3 separate regions of the Homo sapiens genome follow, and regions 2 and 3 are each linked to region 1. Evidence: promoter capture Hi-C in human tissues and cell types (Jung and others, 2019). All regions are on one chromosome and are shown on one strand. Each heading gives the region's core, a stretch centred on a gene start or on the middle of the fragment in contact. The rest is flanking DNA. Distances are from core to core; before and after follow the strand shown.

Region 1 (5,069 bases), core at 692-3,191:
AGGGATATTAAACCATGCTATATTCTACTGGACCGGCTTCCCAGGGCTCAGCTAGATTGCCTCACCCACAGTCGGCAGAGAAAGGGGCAGTCTTTTTTCAGGGGGGTGGGAAAAAGCTGACCTAGTCCCCTTCTCCTACACTAGTCTGTCAAATGCCTTAGGGTCTCCTACCAGAAATAGGAGCAAGAATTCCACCCCCACTCCCAATCGCTACCCCTGGCTGCTACGCAGTTCTTCTCAGAGTCCTAGCCAAGGAAGGGCTGGCGAGCTCACAGGGCAGGGGGCTCAGCCGCCCGCCTCCCTTCCCCCAGTTCTCTGGGGGCAGCGGGGAGCAAGGGGCGACTCCGGCCAGCGAAGACTGAGAAGCCGCGGCTGCAGCTCCATGAATGAACGGGCTGTGTCGTGGGCTCCGGGAGTTCACCTCAATCCTTCCTGCCGGCCTCTGTGCTGTCCCAGGTTGCCATTCCCCAGCTCATCACACTTGGTCATTCCTGCCACTGTTTCCCGCCCCCGCAACCCTCATTAAGGAAACCCTCATTTAAAGCCCCAGTGAGAGCACAGGAGGGGTGAGGCAAAGCGAAGGAGGGGCTGGCGGCAGTGCAGCAGCGAAGCCCGGGCTCTCGGTCCTGGGAGCCTCGTGGCCCCGGCCGCCGTCCCCCGAGTCCCCACCACGCAGTTCCGAACTCCGAACGCGAGTCCGCGCCCCGTCAGCAGTCAGCGGGGGTGAGGATGACGCGGGCCGGGCGAGAGGCAGGCCAAATGCAGCAGCCCCGCCGCGGGCCGCCGGGCCCCTGAGCCCCGCTCTTCAGAGCCAGGGGGCCCCGGGTGCGGGCCGGAGGGCGGGGGCCGGCGCGGGCTCTCCCGCCGCAGCCCCGCGCCGCTCCAGCCTATCAGCGGCCACCCAACTGCTCCCTCCGACCGGCCCAAAATAGCTGCGAACGCCTGCGACTTGCGCGCGGCCCCTCACTTGACGCTCACTCCGGCTCGCTCGCCCGCTCGCCCTGGCCCCGCTCCGCTCGTCTAGAGGGGGCGGGGAGGAAGCGGCCCGGGGAGGGGGGAGGGGGGAGGGGGAGAGAGGAAGAGAGGAGGAAGGAAGGAGGAAAGAGGAAGACGGGCGGCCGGAGGCGCGGGGCTGCGCGGCGCCGGCCGGCGCGGCGCTGGAAGGCGCCGGCGTTAACCCCGCGAGGCAGGCGACGGAGGGGGAGCGGCGCTAATACATAAGAGCACTGCATCACGCTAATCTTCTCCCAGAACAGTATGCGTCAGCAGTACATTCACGTTCTGACTGAAGGACAAAAGGATGAGAGAGCAGTCTGCGTGGCTGCCGCCTGCAACACCGCGAGCCCGGCGCGAGGAGGAGACGGTGGGCGCCGCGCGCAGGGGCCCCGCTGCTGCTGCTGCCGCCGCTAGCCAGCGGGGACTATGTTCCTGGGCTCCGGAGCGTTTCCCGCAGCCGCGACCCCCGCTGCTCACGCCGCTGCAGCAGTCCGCTGGCGGCGCGGCCACTGAGGGCGCCGGGAGCCGAAGCCGCGAACTCGCTCCCTCCGCACAAAGCCGGAGCCGGCGGCGCGCCGGGGGCCGGGCAGCGGCGGGCGGCGACGGGCGGTTGCGCGCCGCCGGGGGCTGCGGCCGCCGCCGCCGCCGGACCCGCGCCCGCCCCCGGACTCTCTGAAGGGGCCTGCGGTGCGGGCGCGACCGCGGGCGCCGCGCGCTCCTCCGGCCGGCGGACCGGGTCCGAGCGCAGCCGCCACGCCGCTGGTCCTCGGGGGCCGGACGGAGCGCCGCCCCGCGTGCCGGCAGCCGGCGGACTGGAGAACTGACCCCCCGTTTTTGTCTCTTCCACCCTCCGAGAAGAGGCGAGGAGAAAGGGGGTGTGTGTCTGGGGAGGGCGAAGGCGCCGCGAACACCTCCTCTTAACTCTCGCCGCTCCGCGAGCTCACGACCGCAATCAGCTGCCGCCGGCCCGGAGCGGCCGACGCCGGGAGAGGGAGCGCAGCATCCAGCGAGTGCGGCCTGGGCGGCTTCGGGGCGCCCCCGCACTCCCTCCGGCGGCGGCCCGCAGAGCGGGCCGGGGCCGCCGGAGCGCACTTTGGCGATGAAGCGCCTTCCCCCGCGGCTGGAGCGAGCCGGTGCCAGGGTCCAAGGACAAAGCCGGGAAGCGCTGGTGGCGCCGCTCCTTGGGCGGAGGGGGGGGCATGCACCTGCATAGCCCGCCGGGCCTTGGCTCTCCCAGGCGCGCCTCAACTCCGCGGCTTCGCCGGCTCCGGCTCCGGATTTACTAGAGGCCATTTTGTCTCCCCCACCCCTTCCCTCCCCTCCCCTCCCCTCCCCTCTGCCCTCCCCGCCCCCACCACTTCCCCCTTTTGTTAATTAAAACTAAGAAGTCGGAATGGGAACGAGGTGCCCAGCTCCCGTGGAGAAAGCTTAAGGACACCACGCCAGTGCTTTCCTGCCTTCCTTCCGAGGTAGGTGACGGCGAACTGGGTGGGGACGGTTGCAGTGTGGGAGAGTCGTAGCTTTCGGAGGGCTTGCCTTGAGGGTGGGTTGGGAGACCAGGGGCCGCTCGAGTTTGGCAGGATTTTTTTCGGCCGATCCGCTCCGTCTCTCTAATCGCCCCCTCCCCACCTCCTTCTCCAGATGGAAAGAGGAGCTCCTAGCTCACTTAAGCCGGGGTAGGGCTGGTTCTCCTTTCCGAGCCAAAATCCCAGGCGATGGTGAATTATGAACGTGCCACACCATGAAGCTCTTGTGGCAGGTAACTGTGCACCACCACACCTGGAATGCCATCCTGCTCCCGTTCGTCTACCTCACGGCGCAAGTGTGGATTCTGTGTGCAGCCATCGCTGCTGCCGCCTCAGCCGGGCCCCAGAACTGCCCCTCCGTCTGCTCGTGCAGTAACCAGTTCAGCAAGGTGGTGTGCACGCGCCGGGGCCTCTCCGAGGTCCCGCAGGGTATTCCCTCGAACACCCGGTACCTCAACCTCATGGAGAACAACATCCAGATGATCCAGGCCGACACCTTCCGCCACCTCCACCACCTGGAGGTCCTGCAGTTGGGCAGGAACTCCATCCGGCAGATTGAGGTGGGGGCCTTCAACGGCCTGGCCAGCCTCAACACCCTGGAGCTGTTCGACAACTGGCTGACAGTCATCCCTAGCGGGGCCTTTGAATACCTGTCCAAGCTGCGGGAGCTCTGGCTTCGCAACAACCCCATCGAAAGCATCCCCTCTTACGCCTTCAACCGGGTGCCCTCCCTCATGCGCCTGGACTTGGGGGAGCTCAAGAAGCTGGAGTATATCTCTGAGGGAGCTTTTGAGGGGCTGTTCAACCTCAAGTATCTGAACTTGGGCATGTGCAACATTAAAGACATGCCCAATCTCACCCCCCTGGTGGGGCTGGAGGAGCTGGAGATGTCAGGGAACCACTTCCCTGAGATCAGGCCTGGCTCCTTCCATGGCCTGAGCTCCCTCAAGAAGCTCTGGGTCATGAACTCACAGGTCAGCCTGATTGAGCGGAATGCTTTTGACGGGCTGGCTTCACTTGTGGAACTCAACTTGGCCCACAATAACCTCTCTTCTTTGCCCCATGACCTCTTTACCCCGCTGAGGTACCTGGTGGAGTTGCATCTACACCACAACCCTTGGAACTGTGATTGTGACATTCTGTGGCTAGCCTGGTGGCTTCGAGAGTATATACCCACCAATTCCACCTGCTGTGGCCGCTGTCATGCTCCCATGCACATGCGAGGCCGCTACCTCGTGGAGGTGGACCAGGCCTCCTTCCAGTGCTCTGCCCCCTTCATCATGGACGCACCTCGAGACCTCAACATTTCTGAGGGTCGGATGGCAGAACTTAAGTGTCGGACTCCCCCTATGTCCTCCGTGAAGTGGTTGCTGCCCAATGGGACAGTGCTCAGCCACGCCTCCCGCCACCCAAGGATCTCTGTCCTCAACGACGGCACCTTGAACTTTTCCCACGTGCTGCTTTCAGACACTGGGGTGTACACATGCATGGTGACCAATGTTGCAGGCAACTCCAACGCCTCGGCCTACCTCAATGTGAGCACGGCTGAGCTTAACACCTCCAACTACAGCTTCTTCACCACAGTAACAGTGGAGACCACGGAGATCTCGCCTGAGGACACAACGCGAAAGTACAAGCCTGTTCCTACCACGTCCACTGGTTACCAGCCGGCATATACCACCTCTACCACGGTGCTCATTCAGACTACCCGTGTGCCCAAGCAGGTGGCAGTACCCGCGACAGACACCACTGACAAGATGCAGACCAGCCTGGATGAAGTCATGAAGACCACCAAGATCATCATTGGCTGCTTTGTGGCAGTGACTCTGCTAGCTGCCGCCATGTTGATTGTCTTCTATAAACTTCGTAAGCGGCACCAGCAGCGGAGTACAGTCACAGCCGCCCGGACTGTTGAGATAATCCAGGTGGACGAAGACATCCCAGCAGCAACATCCGCAGCAGCAACAGCAGCTCCGTCCGGTGTATCAGGTGAGGGGGCAGTAGTGCTGCCCACAATTCATGACCATATTAACTACAACACCTACAAACCAGCACATGGGGCCCACTGGACAGAAAACAGCCTGGGGAACTCTCTGCACCCCACAGTCACCACTATCTCTGAACCTTATATAATTCAGACCCATACCAAGGACAAGGTACAGGAAACTCAAATATGACTCCCCTCCCCCAAAAAACTTATAAAATGCAATAGAATGCACACAAAGACAGCAACTTTTGTACAGAGTGGGGAGAGACTTTTTCTTGTATATGCTTATATATTAAGTCTATGGGCTGGTTAAAAAAAACAGATTATATTAAAATTTAAAGACAAAAAGTCAAAACAAAAATATTTTCTAACTTGTAAGTTCTATTTAAAGGGGGTGGGGGGGAATCTTGGGAACGTTGTGGGGTACAAGCCACAAGTTAACTTGCTATGCTGCCAGAAGGGATTTCTGGTATAAGGTTGAAATTGCTGAGATAAAATAAACTAAAACAACAAACATCCTTAAAGAGGTAGGGTGTGGGCTGCTGAGGGGGCAAGAGGGA
Region 2 (5,069 bases), core at 1,910-4,409, 92 kb after region 1:
GCTCCTGGCAAATCTCACTTAAAAGACCCACCTCTAACTTGGTATTTTACACTCAATATTAATATTTAAGTATATGCTGTACTGTAGTGCAATATAAATGCTTGTCAAAAATAAGACCCTTGAAGGCATACACTATTTCCTTTTTTCCCCTTGCAGTGTCAAGTAATTAACAGGTGTTAAATAACCACTGACTAGTCAACTATAAAAAAGAGGGATGTGAGCAAGAATACTAGCAAGAACAAGTAACTGTTACCATGTCTTCCCACCCACCAAACTGTGGAGGAAAAAACTCCCTCCTCTCAAATCAAGGCAGGCTGCTTACAAGGAGCACCACGTGAAAGGGAAAAATGGCCACTCTACGCAATATGCCTATTTTGATATGAAGGGCTGGTCTGTCGTTAGCACTTCCCAATCAGTAGCACTCACAAATAGGTCTAAACTTGGAAAATTTAAAAAAAAAAAAAAAAAAAAAAACTCCCTATCAAACAATAAGAATCAAGAGTAAAAAAGAAATAGCAGTTTGCTAAAAAAGAGACTAAAATACATCAGGGCCTTAGAAGAGTTATTTCTGCATTCCCTGCACATACGACATCATTCATGAAGAAGGCAATGGTACAAATATAGCATAAATGTCGTCTGCTCTAGCTTGTAATTTAAAATGCAAATGCTAATGAGCGAACTGGTATATCAGTGGAGTTAATAACCGCATGCCTAGCACAGGGGCTGCATCCAAAACACACACAGAGAAGAGACAGACACCATGTTCCAATTTAAAAATAAAAACACCCAAATTAACCCTAGAAAAATCACTAGCAGATGTACAAGCTCAGGAAAAGGAGGCACACAAGGGCAGGGAAATGGGAACTTCTCCACCAGCCGCAGACTAACCAGTGGATTTAAATATTTTCCTACTCATAGTAAAGGTAAGCATGGGAGTTACGAGGGTTTACTGAGGAATGCTATTGTAACAGCATTACAGAGTATAATAAGTATATTAAGGAAAAACTACAGGGAATCCAGAAAGCTTGAATAGAAAGTTTTCTACAAAGCCTACTTTAGAAGCCTATAAGCTAATCTTGCAGGGAGCCAAATGAGATGTAGATCTCATTTACTTCATCATAGGCAAAGGGTGAAGAAGCTTTGGTTAAAAAAAGCCCAAAAACTTACAAGGTCTAGATTAAGAGGGTCATTTAAGTAAATTGGAAAAAGCTCTAATGATGAAATAAAATGACGGAGAGAATGCAGTTGTGTCTCAGATGCCTTCCAAACATGAAACGAACTTCTGTGGATTGTTCTTGCTCCTCATAGGCCAGTGCTTGGCAGCCCTGCAGCAGAATCTGGGAACACTCCACAGCACTGAGACGAAGAGCAGCTCCTTGGGCTTCCTCAGAGCCCCCCATACATGGGGAATGAGGAAGTGCATTCTGTGGTCAGTGGCCCTGTCCAGTGCCAGGACTGAAACTATGACGCCTCCTCAAGGCCAGCAGGAGAGCAAGCTTGCACATGCTGCCCACATTGGACACTTAAGTGTCTTCTAATTCCCATGTTAATGCTATTTATTCAAATTCCACACAAAGAGCCAGGCCCAAACTCTAACAGATCCAGCCCATCTGACTGGGGAAGCCTCAGAAAAACTTTTGAAAGAAACTCAAGGTGAGCAATGACCTGGAGTTTGGGGAAGGGGGCAAACAGCTTTTCAATGATGAAGAATGGTTTTATTTATTTATTTTTTAAACCCAGTCAAATCTGGTTGAAAGGGGTGGGAGATTTGTGAGGTAGTTTCCATAGCAACCAGGATTAAGTCTTACAGCAGTGTGCACTGTTCACCCTGGCGCTGCCCATTACCAGATTTCAAAGCATTAACCTTTAATTTCAAATTACCAAACCATTTACACTCCCTCTCCTGCATCCAGGTCCTGCCATTTTCTACTATTAGTCTGACCAAATGGACTCCCCCACAGGGCTGGAGTTCTGGTGAGTAGCACAGTAGCTTGTCAACATTACTACTAAGTGGCTGCTGGGAAATGCCCACAGGTTGACAAGATAGTGTTGAATAATCTACACTGAAATGTATTCCTCTGGGAAAGCCACAAGAAGGGACTTAGAACTGAGGCATTTAGGCACAACCAACGAGACAGGTGCTGTTTTTGGAAATAATCCAACAGAGAAAAGCCATCAGATTTCTGGAAGTTTCCCATTCCATCCCCCAGTGCCCACCAGGTGGAAGGCAAGCCAGACAACCCTGCATAGACTCAGACAGAACGCGCTTTAAAGTAGGAGGGAAGGAGAAGGGCCCGAAAAGGAACACCTAGGGAAAAGCTCACAGGACTGACCTTCTCTACTACTCCACTGGCCTCATTAGCTCTGCATAGGACAGGCCTCATTTTCTATCCAGGATGTTTTCTCCCCTTGTCTCATCAGTATTAAAACATGAAAGCATAAGAGTAAAAAGCACAATAGAACGCTTTAGAGTAGAAGAGTAGAAACACTAGTCAGAGAATTCAGGAGGAAGGAAACTCCTCACTGACCTACCCATCCAAAGCTAATCCACAGGCCTATCATCTAACAGCAAGGGTAAATCAACATCTATCTTTTCTTGGCACATAAAACCCAGTAGATGGTAAGGGCTGAACACCCCAATCAGGAGGCCACACCATCCTCCACAGTCTGACTCCATAGAAGGCGATGACACCACTAGGACTATCTTTTGCTAGTTATAGGAGGCCCTAGATAGGCTGGCACATAAATGCCACATCGGCCTTGCTGTCTCCCTCACCTCCAGGTCACCAGCATCACACCAAGATAAGCAGGCCAGTCTGACGGAAATAATTAATTAGGAAGCAGGAGGGCAAGAATTCATCTTTAAGTGTTTTAGCTCCAAGGTCTGTGACTGCCATTAAACCAGGCCAAACAAATCTTATTTTTAGTGATGACTTTATTTATTACTCTGGAATGGGTACTGAACAAATCATGTTTCTCTCTCTTTTACCCTGAAACACTAGATTATGTCATGGAAGTCTGTCTTTTAATTCCTACTCCCAATCTTCAGGTATTGGCATGCTGAGGCTCTTAGCATCTTTGTTCATCCTCCTCTGATCTGACCACCTGCAGTTTCCTGATGTCCTTCCTAAAAGGATGGTCCTCAGATGGTACACCGTACCACCAGGAATGCAATGACTTGGGCTGGGTCAGTACCTGGCTCCACTCCTCTCTGCGTTCTGTATTTCCGAGTTTTGAAACAGCCTTTTTGACAGCAGTTACATATTTACTCTTATTGTTTTATAAAATCTGAGCTGTTCTCATTTGTATAGTATTTAAGCCATGTTTTGCTTACCCTTATGCTTTTAAAATATTTTTTTCTTCATGTCAATACATTCTTTACTCCAGTAGACACAATTACTTTGCTCAAAGGCTGGAACTGTATCATCCATTTCTGTATTCCTAGCATTGTGCCCACTGAATATAAAAAAAAATTATTAAATAACCATGTAATTGAATGACCCACAAGTATGATGAGGCTCATTCTGGGGATGATTCATGGTGTAAAGATGAAAATAATCCTGGTGTAATTGGAGGTTTCATTCACATGACCAGTGGGTGACAGTGTGCCTGCATAGACGGAGAGCTGAAGGTGGAGCAGTGAAGGCTCAATAGCAGAAGAGCTAAGAGGGAGATTTACACACCAATACAAAAGCGGAGAGAAAAATGATTGATTAATATGTCCATTTCTTTTAGGCAACTCTTCCTGAGATCTGATACAGGCCAACTTCTTCTGCCTAGATGAATCAAACCCAGTCTGCCCAAAGAAAATGTAGCAGATCTTCTCGGAAACTCAAATGCCATCGCCCTGAGGAAAACTTTTCCATTCAACAATTGTTATTTGCTCTGTATTCTCATACTAGGTGGCCTATGCTTTTGATAACTGCTCTTTCATATTTCCTTGTTTACATTATTTGTATGGCCATCTACATAACTAGACTAAAAGATATTCGAGGGAGAAGTTATCCTACTAATTTATGTATCATCCAAAATTTATCTATTGAAGACTACTTTTCTTAATCTGTGCTTGTAAAAATCTTGTACTCATTAAAAAACACTACCCAAATCTGTTCATTGTGTTAATTCTTTCCTGTAAGTGACTCTCCAGGATCCCCGGACATGAACATAATTCTTATAATTCCTATAATGATATCTTTAAAAGTAAAGAACTAGAGCAGCTCCAGGAAAGTCTCATGTTAAGCTGCCCATTTCTAGTAATGGGACCCAACAGAAAGTAGGCAATGGAGACAGAATCAAACTGGGATATCCCAAGAGAAAGAATACCCCACTTTACAAATATCCATTAAGTTGCAATTCAATTAAAGCATCTGAAAGGAATTCATAAGTATCAGCAGACCCTGTAATTGCTTAATTAAGGATAGAAGCCTAGCAAACACAACCACAATAACAGCCTGATTCATTAGCACCTCTGTGATAGCAGAATGGGATTTCTCACTTAAACATACATTGGCTTTAATTGTGTAATTTAGTTAGGCACTGGTAATCAATGGGGATCCACCATTCCTGGGACCAGGAGATGAGAAGGATATTCCTGTTCACCTTCCCTTCCCTCCTCTCATTAGAAGTTTTTGGTCTATTGAAACAGGCAGTTGATATTCCAATGAGGATTGGCTAGAGAAGAGATCTTAAAGGAAAAGAAGGAAATGAGGAACTTCATTCAAAGGCATTCAGGGTGAAAGGACACACAGCCAAACCTTTAGTTCACCATGCACAAGCCCACCACCATTTATCAAATCCTAGACACTTAGAACTTTTCTCAATGCCTCCTTTGTCATAATCCAGCTCCAGAAAGGGAGGGAGAGGGAGAGAGAGAGGAGAAGGGACAGGGGGAGGGAGAGGGAGAGGAGAAGGGAGAAGGGTTGGGAGACGGAAAGAGAGGAAGGGGGAGGGAAAGAAAAATGCTAAAGGGCAGGAAAAGGGAAGTCTCATTTTCTTGTCTTATTTCATATGAATAGGTAACTGGTTAATTATAAGTCACCTGCTGTGATCCACATGGGAACTCCCTGCCA
Region 3 (5,069 bases), core at 1,176-3,675, 69 kb after region 1:
AACGTTAGACCTAAAACCATAAAAACCCTAGAAGAAAACCTAGGCATTACCATTCAGGACATAGGCGTGGGCAAGGACTTCATGTCCAAAACACCAAAAGCAATGGCAACAAAAGCCAAAATTGACAAATGGGATCTAATTAAACTCAAGAGCTTCTGCACAGCAAAAGAAACTACCATCAGAGTGAACAGGCAACCTATAACATGGGAGAAAATTTTTGCAACCTACTCATCTGACAAAGGGCTAATATCCAGAATCTACAATGAACTCAAACAAATTTACAAGAAAAAAACAAACAACCCCATCAAAAAGTGGGCGAAGGACATGAACAGACACTTCTCAAAAGAAGACATTTATGCAGCCAAAACACACATGGAAAAATGCTCATCATCACTGGCCATCAGAGAAATGCAAATCAAAACCACTATGAGATATCATCTCACACCAGTTAGAATGGCAATCATTAAAAAGTCAGGAAACAACAGGTGCTGGAGAGGATGTGGAGAAATAGGAACACTTTTACACTGTTGGTGGGACTGTAAACTAGTTCAACCATTGTGGAAGTCAGTGTGGCGATTCCTCAGGGATCTAGAACTAGAAATACCATTTGACCCAGCCATCCCATTACTGGGTATATACCCAAAGGACTATAAATCATGCTGCTATAAAGACACATGCACACGTATGTTTATTGCGGCATTATTCACAATAGCAAAGACTTGGAACCAACCCAAATGTCCAACAATGATAGACTGGATTAAGAAAATGTGGCACATATACACCATGGAATACTATGCAGCCATAAAAAATGATGAGTTCATGTCCTTTGTAGGGACATGGATGAAATTGGAAACCATCATTCTCAGTAAACTATCGCAAGAACAAAAAACCAAACACCGCATATTCTCACTCATAGGTGGGAATTGAACAATGAGATCACATGGACACAGGAAGGGGAATATCACACTCTGGGGACTGTGGTGGCGGCGGGGAGGGGGGAGGGATAGCATTGGGAGATATACCTAATGCTAGATGACGAGTTAGTGGGTGCAGCGCACCAGCATGGCACATGTATACATATGTAACTAACCTGCACAATGTGCACATGTACCCTAAAACTTAAAGTATAATTAAAAAAAAAAAAAGAAAAGAAATATGCCGCTCTAGTCTTATCTCTGGGTACTCAGCCACCATCCACATTCCATCCAAAGTGAACAACTTGCTGCACCCTGCCCATGCTTTGCATTTTCACACAGCTTAGAATAGAGCTGCCCCAATCTCCTTGTTCAGGTCAGAACATAATGATTTTAGCCAAAGGCTGTTTAACAACTTAGAGAAAAATAGATCAAACAGAATGCGATCATCACAATAAATATAAAGTAATTGTTGATTTGACTTGAGGTTCTAAGAAGGAAGAAAATATGTTCTACTCTCAAGTTTTTTACAGACTCTAAGAGATCATGGAGTCATTTGAACTGATGCTTAGAGAAGCTTTGGCTCAGAGAGGTGTCATTTCAAAAAGGCAAGTTAAGAACATGTTATGCCTGATTGCAAGTTGTAGAGCTGAAAGTCCAGTGGATGAAGCCTCTGTTTTGCCACTCACACAGTCTGTAACTATGACAATGCCACTCCATTTCTTTGTGCTGTTTCCTCATCTACAAAACCAGACAGTCGGATAGTTTTCAATGCTTGCTCCAGAAATAGTGTCAGAGCTGCCTGCAGAGTGGGGATGGAGAATAGACTGGGCCTGATGGTTATGACCCACACCATAACCTAACCTTTCAGATTTATATGCTAGCCAGAAAAATGGTAAGAAACATAGGAAACATGGGCATTCCTAAAGACAGAAAAGCCATACACATCCTGCTTTCTGTTGCCAACAGGCATGTCTACATTTGATAAAGCCTACGCTTTGCCATTTGGGGGAAATACACTCTTCAGTTTTCTTCTTCATGGACAGATAACACATTTTGCCAAAGATGTCTGAGATTAAGGGAGTAGAAATGCAACAACTCTGCACACGTCCAGAGAAATATATACGTATATACAAAGAACCTGGTTTTGTTCAGCCTCAACCAAGATCGTGTATTCTTTTGCTAACACTCCTCTGTTTGATTTGCAGTCAGTTTGCTTACACAGCACTATTTGGGTTTCAAGGCTTAATTTATTTGACTATATTCATTCCCTTTCCCCATCTTCCTTCCAGCACAGCAATTCCAAGCAGAGAGAGAACACATCATACTCCCTTATACAAAGAGTTCCTCAGCTTTATATTAGAACTCTCTGGAATACTTTTTCTTTTTAGTAACCTCAAGAAAAGGCATAAATTATGTGTACCAATGTAGCTGTTCTACCTTTAAATTCTCTCACTCATTTCTAAGAGTTGTGCAATATGATCTTAGGATACTTATAGGATCCGATCACGTGATGCACAGGGCAGGTGCTGAGAGCATTCAGGCCAATCAGCTCTCACAGGTAATGATAAGAGGCGCTTCGGCCAACAAAGGGCAACTCTGTTGTTGCAGGAGGGTGTCCTGTTGATTTTCACGTAGCTTGATAAAATATACCCTTTTTCTTCCAACTAGGTCTCAAAGGTCTGGCGAGGGAGTGGACACTGGCATTTGCACTGATTTATTCTGGTTGAGAATGGACACATAGGAAATGGTAGAAAAGCTTGTTCCAACTCAGGCAATCTTTCTGCTTTCATAAGCCCACAACGATACTAAAAATGAAGCATCAGAACAAACAGAAGCTGATGACGGCAATAGAAGAAAATGAGGCTGATTAGACAATTTCACATGGCAAAAGTAGTATTTAAATTTTGGTTGTTTTGGGTTTAGGTTCTGCTTTCTTCCCTCCTCTCTTGAAAATGAGTGCTTTTGCACGTGTTTTTTACAGTGGCAAACACTTAATCAAAGAATTTAATTTTATTTGTTGTGCTATCATCCTAAGGTTTCTTCTGTTCTCAAGTTTCAGCTTGCTTTTCAAGTGGCTCGGAATAAAGATGCCTGGATCTAGATCTTACTATCATACAGCTTTATTTGTAAAGAAGAAAATATGTAAGTAAACACCATTTGTAGTTACTGTATGAAAAAAATCCTCATTGATTCTTTTAGAAAATACACTTATGTAATATATTACAACTAGATCTTCCTAAGTTAACCAAGTATTGTAGTTTTAATTTTGTGAAGCAGGTGTGTATATATTTTACATTATTTATACATTTAGTAACAATCAGGATAAAATGCTAGGGCTGTGGAAAAACATACAGTGGACCCACATACGAGTGAATTTACACTGTCCAAAATGATAGGGCTGTATTTAATTAATGCCCTCTCTTGGCAGGAAGAAGGAAAGCTGACTTTGTTAGGGTTTGAGGCACCCTCTGCCAGAGATGTGCCTACACCTCCCAAGTCCAGGTGGAGAGGAATGGACACATTTGGTACTAAAAAATTCTTCTCCCAAGACCAAACTTCTCTTGGGATTCCCCTAAGCTTTATCCCAGGATGTTTCTGGGCAGCTGGCAGAATAGTATTGAAACTCACAGAAGTTGAGTTTTCATTTCAATTTCACTGTAGCACTGCAGCACCTGATATAATCCCTTAAAGACTCTCAGTCTGGTCCTAATCTCTCTCCTAAAATACAACACAGGGAAGATCTGAATATAGATTGCAACCTGGTCCATTTGTTCTTCCTACATCAACACAAAGGAATCATGGTGGATACAGATTTAATGTCTATTTTCTCAGCTACTGATAAGCCTAGGGCTACAGAATATAGCTGAATGGAGAACCTCATATAACCAGGCTGATTGCACTTTATTAATTATTCATCATTACTTAACCTCAGGTGGAGACTCAATGCTCAGCAAAACTTCTGCACTCCACCCTTTTCTAGATGACTGTAATTCAATGCTTGCTTTCTTCTACCAGAGATTGGAGATCTGCAAGGAGGAACAGTATCAACCTCCAAAGAGTGTTTTCTAATGTGTACGTTTTGTGTGGGCTGGGTGTCATTTTTGGTTGTGGCAATAGCTGGGGTGGGACGGTGTGCTGCTAATGGCATTTAGTGAGGAAGGACCAATAAAGTGAATGCGGGTAGTCCCACACGATGCACTTACTATCTGTCTTAGGTACTGCCTATGCCCACCATCGTGCTAGGAAATTAGCAATGAGAATCCATTTTAGAAGCTTAAGAAAAACAGGGTGTCTGTGACAGCAATGATAATATTGGCCTAGATATTGTAATGTGAGCCTGGGAAAGCAGCGACAGAAGCAGAGGTGCTGCTAGATTGGTCTTGCCACCCGGTAAGTTCCAGAGACGAATGGCCAGCAGCTAGAAGAACAGATCTGTTTCCACTTCCTTCTTTTCCACCTGGGCAAGAATAGATAGCAGACGAGAGGCAACAGGGGAACCAGAGGGAACATCAATGAACTCTTCTGCTGGGTGATGTTTACCCAGTAATGAGTGAAATGAAAACTGATACAACATAGATTTCCATATCATAGGGGAATACCATGGCTACTAGAGCCAATTCATTCAACAAATATGTATCAAGTGCCTACCATGTGCCAGGCATTGTTCTACATGCTGGGGAGATATACATAGCAATGAACAAAACAGACCAAAATCCTCACCTTCTCGCAATTTAACATCCTGGTGGAGAGAGACAGACAAGCCAGTAAAATGCATACCATGTTGGATGGTGACAGTGCTATGGAAGAGGGAGAGGGAATGGGGTAGTTTTGCGATTTTAAAGAGGACGGTTGGAGAAACATTTATTGAGAAAGTAGCATTTGACCAAAGATCTGAAGTAGTAGAAGGACTGAACCTAAGGATATCCAGAAGAGAGTGCAAAGGCCCCAACACAGGAGTAGAGGCAGTGAAGTGGGAAGAGCAGGAGATGAGGTCAGAGAGAGGAAACAAAACACAGGGAAGACAGGCCACACTTCCAGGCCACAGTAAGAACCCAGCTTGCACTCTGAGTCAAATGGAAAGCCACTGTTAGAATAGAATGGTACCCAGGGATGAAGACATACATAGACAGCTACATGTGTAGGAATGTGTAT

The links. The method cuts DNA at HindIII sites, captures the fragments that hold promoters and counts their contacts. A contact is called where the count stands out against the background at its distance.
Region 2: a contact is called between a fragment that was not itself captured here and the fragment with the promoter of LRRC4 in region 1, in 3 of the 25 tissues and cell types used here (dorsolateral prefrontal cortex, hippocampus and pancreas).
Region 3: a contact is called between a fragment that was not itself captured here and the fragment with the promoter of LRRC4 in region 1, in 7 of the 25 tissues and cell types used here (H1 embryonic stem cells, dorsolateral prefrontal cortex, hippocampus and 4 more).

Annotation. Positions count from the first base shown.
Region 1 is chr7:128,028,309-128,033,377 of GRCh38, reverse strand. LRRC4 (leucine rich repeat containing 4) reads left to right here and starts at 1,941. Exons shown (of 2, transcript NM_022143.5): 1 at 1,941-2,465; 2 at 2,638-5,069. The coding sequence starts at 2,738. The coding sequence ends at 4,699. All of the region lies in intron 16 of SND1 (staphylococcal nuclease and tudor domain containing 1), which reads right to left. RefSeq lists silencers at 658-727, 1,378-1,497. The HindIII fragment of the contact is 14,553 bases long and covers 1-4,096 here.
Region 2 is chr7:127,937,295-127,942,363 of GRCh38, reverse strand. The region is part of intron 15 of SND1 (staphylococcal nuclease and tudor domain containing 1); the gene reads right to left. Among named protein-coding and RNA genes, the nearest start is that of SND1-IT1, 58 kb to the left of the region's middle. The HindIII fragment of the contact is 3,683 bases long and covers 1,318-5,000 here.
Region 3 is chr7:127,959,329-127,964,397 of GRCh38, reverse strand. All of the region lies in intron 15 of SND1 (staphylococcal nuclease and tudor domain containing 1), which reads right to left. Among named protein-coding and RNA genes, the nearest start is that of SND1-IT1, 36 kb to the left of the region's middle. RefSeq lists enhancers at 4,270-4,329, 4,340-4,419 and a silencer at 4,316-4,516. The HindIII fragment of the contact is 4,587 bases long and covers 132-4,718 here.